Regions from separate parts of the Homo sapiens genome. Here region 2 is linked to region 1. Evidence: promoter capture Hi-C in 16 types of primary human blood cells and fetal thymus (Javierre and others, 2016). All regions are on one chromosome and are shown on one strand. The core of a region is centred on a gene start or on the middle of the fragment in contact, and the rest is flanking DNA. Distances in the headings are between cores, read along the strand shown. Region 1 holds the start of VANGL1 (VANGL planar cell polarity protein 1). Region 2 has its middle 41 kb from the start of LINC01765.

Region 1 (3,027 bases), core at 458-2,957:
AAGGTGAATTTATTATTTTAAAATAGGTTATTTGCAACTACCCCTCTTTCCCACAAAACATCATCTGGTAAGGTGGCTAGACATAAGAACCTAAGTGAATTAGAATTACTTTCTGAAAACTCATTGAAGATCTCTGTGTTAATTGGAGCTATTCAGGTACATGACTAGAATTGGAAATCCCTGGCCTGTTTGAACTTTGAAAGTTCTACATTTTAGAGATGAGAGAGACATGTTTTTATAATGTTCTACATTTCTGACCCTGAGTGCTGATTTGGGTGAATAGACCATTGGCTTTACCCATAGGAACCTGGCTGCCTGAGTCAGCAACATCTGCTCTCTGGAGCCTACTGGGAGGCTGGGGGTGGGGGAGGAAGATGGTCTAGGCCACTGAGTGGGGCAGCAGAGCCTGGGGACTAGGAGTGGTGAAAATCAGCCACATTGAACATATGGGTGTCTTCTCAAGGAAATGTGACATATGCGAGAGAAAATGGAGTCTAGAAGGGATGAGGAAGAGGTGATCAAGGGAGTGAGGGGTTCTTGGAGCCAAGGTTCCCTGATTAAGGCTAGTCAGGGTGGGCCTGCATTTCCCCACCCCAAATGCCCGCAATACTCCTGTAGACAACTCTTAGGAAATTCAGCACTTCATTATACACTGCTTCCACTGGAAAATCCTGCCACGTAAGCAGCTTTGGGTCCCAGCTAGATTGGAGATGATCAGTAAGGAACCCTAATGCTACCAACACAAGACAACTAAGAAAAGTGCAAATATTCATGAAAATCGTTGCCAACTGTTTTGTAATCCTCACCACAATCCTGCAAGGTGGACAGCAGCATCCTCACCACTTTTCAGACAGGTAAACAAAGGCTCAGAAAGGAAACAGTACCTGGTTGGAATCAGCACTGAAGCTTCAGCTACCTGCCTGCAGAGATGTGCTCATCTAGCAGTTTCTAGGAGACTAGGCTGGCGGCAGTGCCTGCTCTGATAAGGGAGGAGGAGGGGAGAGGCTTGCTGTGGTGGCTTGTAGGGGGTGTGTGTGTGTGTGTGTGTGTGTGTGTGTGTGTGTCTATTTGTGGGGTCATTTCCAGGGCTACATGTGAGTTTAAGTGTGTGTATATGGGTTGAGATATGGTGTATATGGATATTTGTCGGTCAGTTCTTGGAAAGTGTGTATATGAGTGTGTGTTGAGTGGGGTTGGGGGGTTAGTCCCTGAGCCGTGTGAATATGTGGATGGGGGCACTCGTGAGGGCAAATGGGCTCGGATTTTGTGCATGATTGTGTGTGTGTGTGTGTGTGTGTGAGCTTGAGATTCCAAGTATGTGGGGGAGGGAGGGGGCGGTGTCGGAGATCAATCCCTGGGCCATGTGTTTATAGTGTGTGTGTCTGCCCAGAAGAGAGTGGGTTACTGGGCTGTGCACGTCTGTGTAGGGTGAGTGTGTGTATGAGGGTGAATGAGTGTGGGAGGTGTCATTCCCTGGTCCGTGTGTAAGAGTGTGACCGCGCACGCCTTCGTGTGTGTCCCGGGTGTGTGGGGTCGGGGCGGTGACGAGGTGAGGGGGACGCCGGCCGAGCCCCGCCCTCCGCTGCAGGTGGGCCGGCCCCGCGGCGGGGCCGGCAGCGCTAGCTGTTCTTGGCTCGCGGCCGCGCCGGGCTCGCAGGGCTGGGCTCGGGCTGCGGGGCGGCGCCGGGACAGGAAGCGGAAAGCAGCAGTGCAGCGGCGGCGGCGGCGGGGCTCTGCCTCTCCAGGAGCCCAGCGCAGGCCGCAGAGCCGGGGCCGCTGTGAGCCGAGACCGCGGGCCGCGGAGCTCGGGCGGCCGGCGCGGAGGTGAGTCCCGCGAGAGGCCGAGCGCTGCGCGGCGGCGGTCCCCGGGGCAGACCGTTGGCTGGGAGACGCCCCCACCTCGGACCCCGCGTGCCCCTGCGCCCTCCTCCCGCATTCGCCCCGCCGGACTTCGACCCCGGGTGGCCGGCTCCCGCCTCGGGCCGGGGGCTCCCTCCCCTCCTCCGGAGCGCTCCGGGTAGTGCTTCCTCTGACTCCACTCTTCTCCCCATGCGTTGCGCCCCTCCTGGCCCTGCCGTGCGATCTCCGCCGCACCCCACTCCTTGGGGTCCCGGGGTTCCCTGCTCACACCTCGGACGTCCCTTTCTCCCCGGGCTGGCCTTTGGAGTGCGCCCCTTCGGTGCGCGTGCCGGGGCGGCGGGCAGGCCGGCAGGGAGTGGCCGAGCGTTGGAGGCACCGGGCGGCTGCAGCAGCCGTGCAGGGCGGGAGCCGGGCGCGCACCGGGGTTCCCACCCCTGGCGGGGCTCGACCCGGGCGCCGCCTGGCCCTTCGCCAGGAACCGGGACAGAGCTGGTCTGTGTGCACACCTCGCTCACAAAAAATTGAGCCGGCCCTGGAGGCCTGGGGGGCGAGTCCGGTTGCGCCTCGGAGAGCGCAACAGGCAGGTAGGAGTTTACTTTCAAAAACGCCGGGGTGGAGCAGAGGCGCCTGGCGGGTCTCTGCCCAAGGTGTCCCTGCTGGAGGAAATCTCACCGCGCCGGGGCAGCCTTCGCCACCGGCAGGACCTCATTTCCTTCTGCAGTCTTTGAACTGCCCCAAGCATCGCGCCTAGAGAAGTGTGAAGCTTTATAAAAATTTAAACGCGTCCGTGGTGGCGGCAGCAGTGGGGCGGAGCCGCGGCCTGGCTGCTGTGTGATGAGCAGATGAGACTTGGAGCTGAGGAATCTGTTGCTCAGTTTTCACTTCTCCAAACCAGGTCTAATGCCCACGCTGCGAAGGTGTTGTGAGCTCTCTTAGATTCTCCTTAGGAAGTGTTAGAGCGCCTTATGATGATGATTGTGTAGATGGCCCATGCATTTTGTTAAAACTCTTGACCTGGCTTTGGTTAGAAATGAATGTATTCTTAGACACTTAGTCCAAAAGCTAACAAACTGTAAAAGAATCTGGCATTTTCACTGACATGTTTATAAATTTTACGGGGCTGCTGAAAAATATTATAACTTGTATCACCAGTCAACAATGCTAATT
Region 2 (3,019 bases), core at 512-3,011, 500 kb before region 1:
TTATCATAGTGTTAGCACATAGTGGGAATTCAACCAATGCTTGTTGACCAAATGACTGAAGCAGGGTAACGGAAAATTCAAGTCCATGCTGATCTATTAATACCTGGACCTGAGGGGTGGTGAGCGCTCGTTCCCCCCGCTAGAGGGCACTCTGGTCGTGTGCTTCACTGGAGGCCGCGAGCAGTGTGGCTCCACTTGGGAGCCTTGTGAAACCAGTTACGCTCCCGTTGCTGGCAGCTTGAGCCAAGCAGCACAGACGCACTTACGGCTCAGGCCAGTCTCCTTACCAGGCGCCATCATTCTCTTCACATGGACCCTTTGTTTCTCTCATTGCCTTCCCCTCACCTCACCTCACCTCATGCTCCCCCTGGAGGTACACAACCTTCACCTATGGCACATTCAGAACTTTCCCTACTTCCTTTAGCGGTAGCCAATAATATCTGAAATAACTTCAGCTAAGACCCTAATTAATGCCCATTCCTGAGGGTGTCTTCCTCCTGTTGGGTTAGTTGCGACTTACCAATTGCTTTTAATGCCTTTGAGTGACATGGGACAGTGATGTGTCCTGGTGGTGGGGATATTTTTGATGGGAAGGATGGGGTTTCCCTAGAGCCCCTCAAGCCACCCCACACAGTGGCCTTCCTAGGAGTGCTCGGCCCCGCCTGTCGTGCCAAGGGCCCGCGTCCATCGGCGTTCCACTCACAACATGCCTACCTATGGGAGTGTGGTGGGCCCTCGGGAAGTTAGTGTCCAGTTTTGAACAGAGTTGTACTTTTTATTTTTATTTTTTAAGAAAATGTGGTAAAAGTAATGCATTATTCAGCTTCATTCATAAAGCTTCTTTTTCATGGAGTTCCACAGTCTTATGTGTTGTGAAACCACACTTGAATTATTGTGGATAATTACTATTATCCACAATAATTGTGCATCTCTTTTTAAATACTGTGGGAATTACTCAAGGGTGATATCAAAAGGAATGGCACATCGGAGTGCTGGGGCTCTGGGAGCTGTGCCATTGGAGGGTCAGTTGAAGAAATGGGGATGGTGTAGACTGGAGAAGAAAAGACGTTAGAGAAGTATGACAGCTTCCTGACATGCAGATGCTTCTATTTCCATCAACATGTTATAAAGAATTAAAAAAATAAGTGTTGTCAATATTCAAGAAGCTCCTGGGATCCCTTTTGTAGAGCAGAATCTGGGGAGTGGGGTAAGACAGGAAACAACAGAAAATTAAAAAGCAAGAGAGGCTGAGAGTATCCACCATCATTAGTTGTGCAGGATGGGGGTGGGGGCCTCGTGGAGAAAGGCTGCAGCCTGCTTGCGGGCTTGGTTGGGAATAGTCAGAAGAGGGAGAGTTTTGGGAGCCTCTACACCGAGTAGGAGATCCAAAGAGAAATATGAGGAAAAAGGATTGTAAGAGGATGATTGTTTTTTAGTAATTTTTGAGAACTCCCAGCATGTTTTGAATTGCATTTTCACCTACTCTAGGTTGTTAGACTCTTATTTGAATGAGATTTTATTGAGACAGGAATACATGGAATGCTGGGATTACCTCGGTTAAATGAGGAAGCATTTTTCTAATAACCAGTCAAGAGCAGGCCAGGCTTCCTCACCAGGATGAGTTGAGACCTACTGAGTTTGGATGAGCACCTGTAAGGAATGTAGGGGTGTTCTGCCCTGGGTGGAAGGCTGTGATGGCTTCTAGGATCCCTTTCAATTCTGAGGTTCTATGACTTCATGAAAACAAGACATTGCTGGACAAGTTTGAGTGGCCCACCTTCCTACCTGCCTATCCCACAGTCTGAAGTGGCATTTATGAAAAGCTGGGAACACAGAAGGAGACAATGGGTCTCCAGCCTACGGTGAACAGTTCTTTTCTGGCAGCTAATTTAGCTCTAGAAGTTTCCAGTTCCCACCAAAACATTGAGAGATCATCCTGTAGTTTGGGGCACACAATCAGAACAGTTAAATAAAAATGCAAGTGGTTAGTTTTACATCTGCTGGGGACATTCCATGGCCAGCTACATAGAAGTCTAGGCATTCTATGTCTCCAGCCCTAGGAGCTGGGGATACAAGTGTCACTGAGACATAGCTCTTATTCTTGAGGCATTCATCATCTGTGGAAGAGAGAGCCATGGAAACCAGTGATTACAATCCAGTGTCCCAGCATAGATAGAAATATGCATAAGGAGGGGGACATGGGAGGGGAGGACAGCTTTGCTGCAGAGGCTGTTCTTGAGCAAGTTTGAAAGAGTAAATGTGGTCTACCAATGAGGCTTACCAAGAGCAAGGCTATGGAAAAGGCATTCCAGGCAGACAAAGCACCATGGGCTTAGGAGCAGATATGTGAGGCCAAATAATGTATTAGGGGAGTTGAGGCCAGGGAGGGGTGGTCTGGCTGGATCCTGAAGGTCTAGTTATGAAGTTGTATGACATGAGACTGCAGAGCTGTGAAGGGCTTTGTCTTCCATGCTAAGGAGTGTCAGCTTTATCCTACAGAGGTTTTGGATTCCTGAAGCATTTTAATCCTACCCCTTTGTGGCGAGCAAATAGAGGATGGATTGGAGGGGTGTGAATGAGTGTGTACACATGTAAACGCACATTTATGGTTGTGCATGGTCCAGATAAGGGCTCAGGGGCATGGGGAAACTTCCCAAGCAGAGAGCTTCACAATCTGTTTCTAAACCAAGCTTCTATCCCCAAATTGTTTCACTTTATTCTTGTGGAATAATAAAAAAAGTCATTTAGCTCAATTATCTCATTTGACAGAGTTGGAAATTGAGGCCCCAAGAGGGACAGTTCCTTGCCCAAGGCTACATAGCTAGGGATTGGCAGATCCCATGGATTGTTGGCTCTTGATCCAGTGCTTTCTTTATGATGTCATTCTGTTTTCTGAAATTCTCTGATACCCATAGGACAATGTTCTAGCTCTGGAGAATGGCTGATAAGGCTTTGGCAATCTGGGCACAACTGTCTTTCTTCCCCATTAGGTCCCCAGCACATAGTATGCCTGGGGACA

What was found. Contacts are between HindIII fragments. The CHiCAGO score rates a contact against its expected background, and 5 or more counts as called.
Region 2: a contact is called between a fragment that was not itself captured here and the fragment with the promoter of VANGL1 in region 1, in 1 of 17 cell types (fetal thymus). The highest score is 5.2, in fetal thymus.

What each region holds. Positions count from the first base shown.
Region 1 is chr1:115,640,263-115,643,289 of GRCh38, forward strand. It overlaps VANGL1 (VANGL planar cell polarity protein 1), which reads left to right and starts at 1,708. Exons shown (of 8, transcript NM_138959.3): 1 at 1,708-1,824. RefSeq lists a silencer at 1,440-2,429 and an enhancer at 1,565-2,323. The HindIII fragment of the contact is 1,717 bases long and covers 905-2,621 here.
Region 2 is chr1:115,138,934-115,141,952 of GRCh38, forward strand. No RefSeq gene overlaps it. Among named protein-coding and RNA genes, the nearest start is that of LINC01765, 41 kb to the left of the region's middle. The HindIII fragment of the contact is 1,853 bases long and covers 836-2,688 here.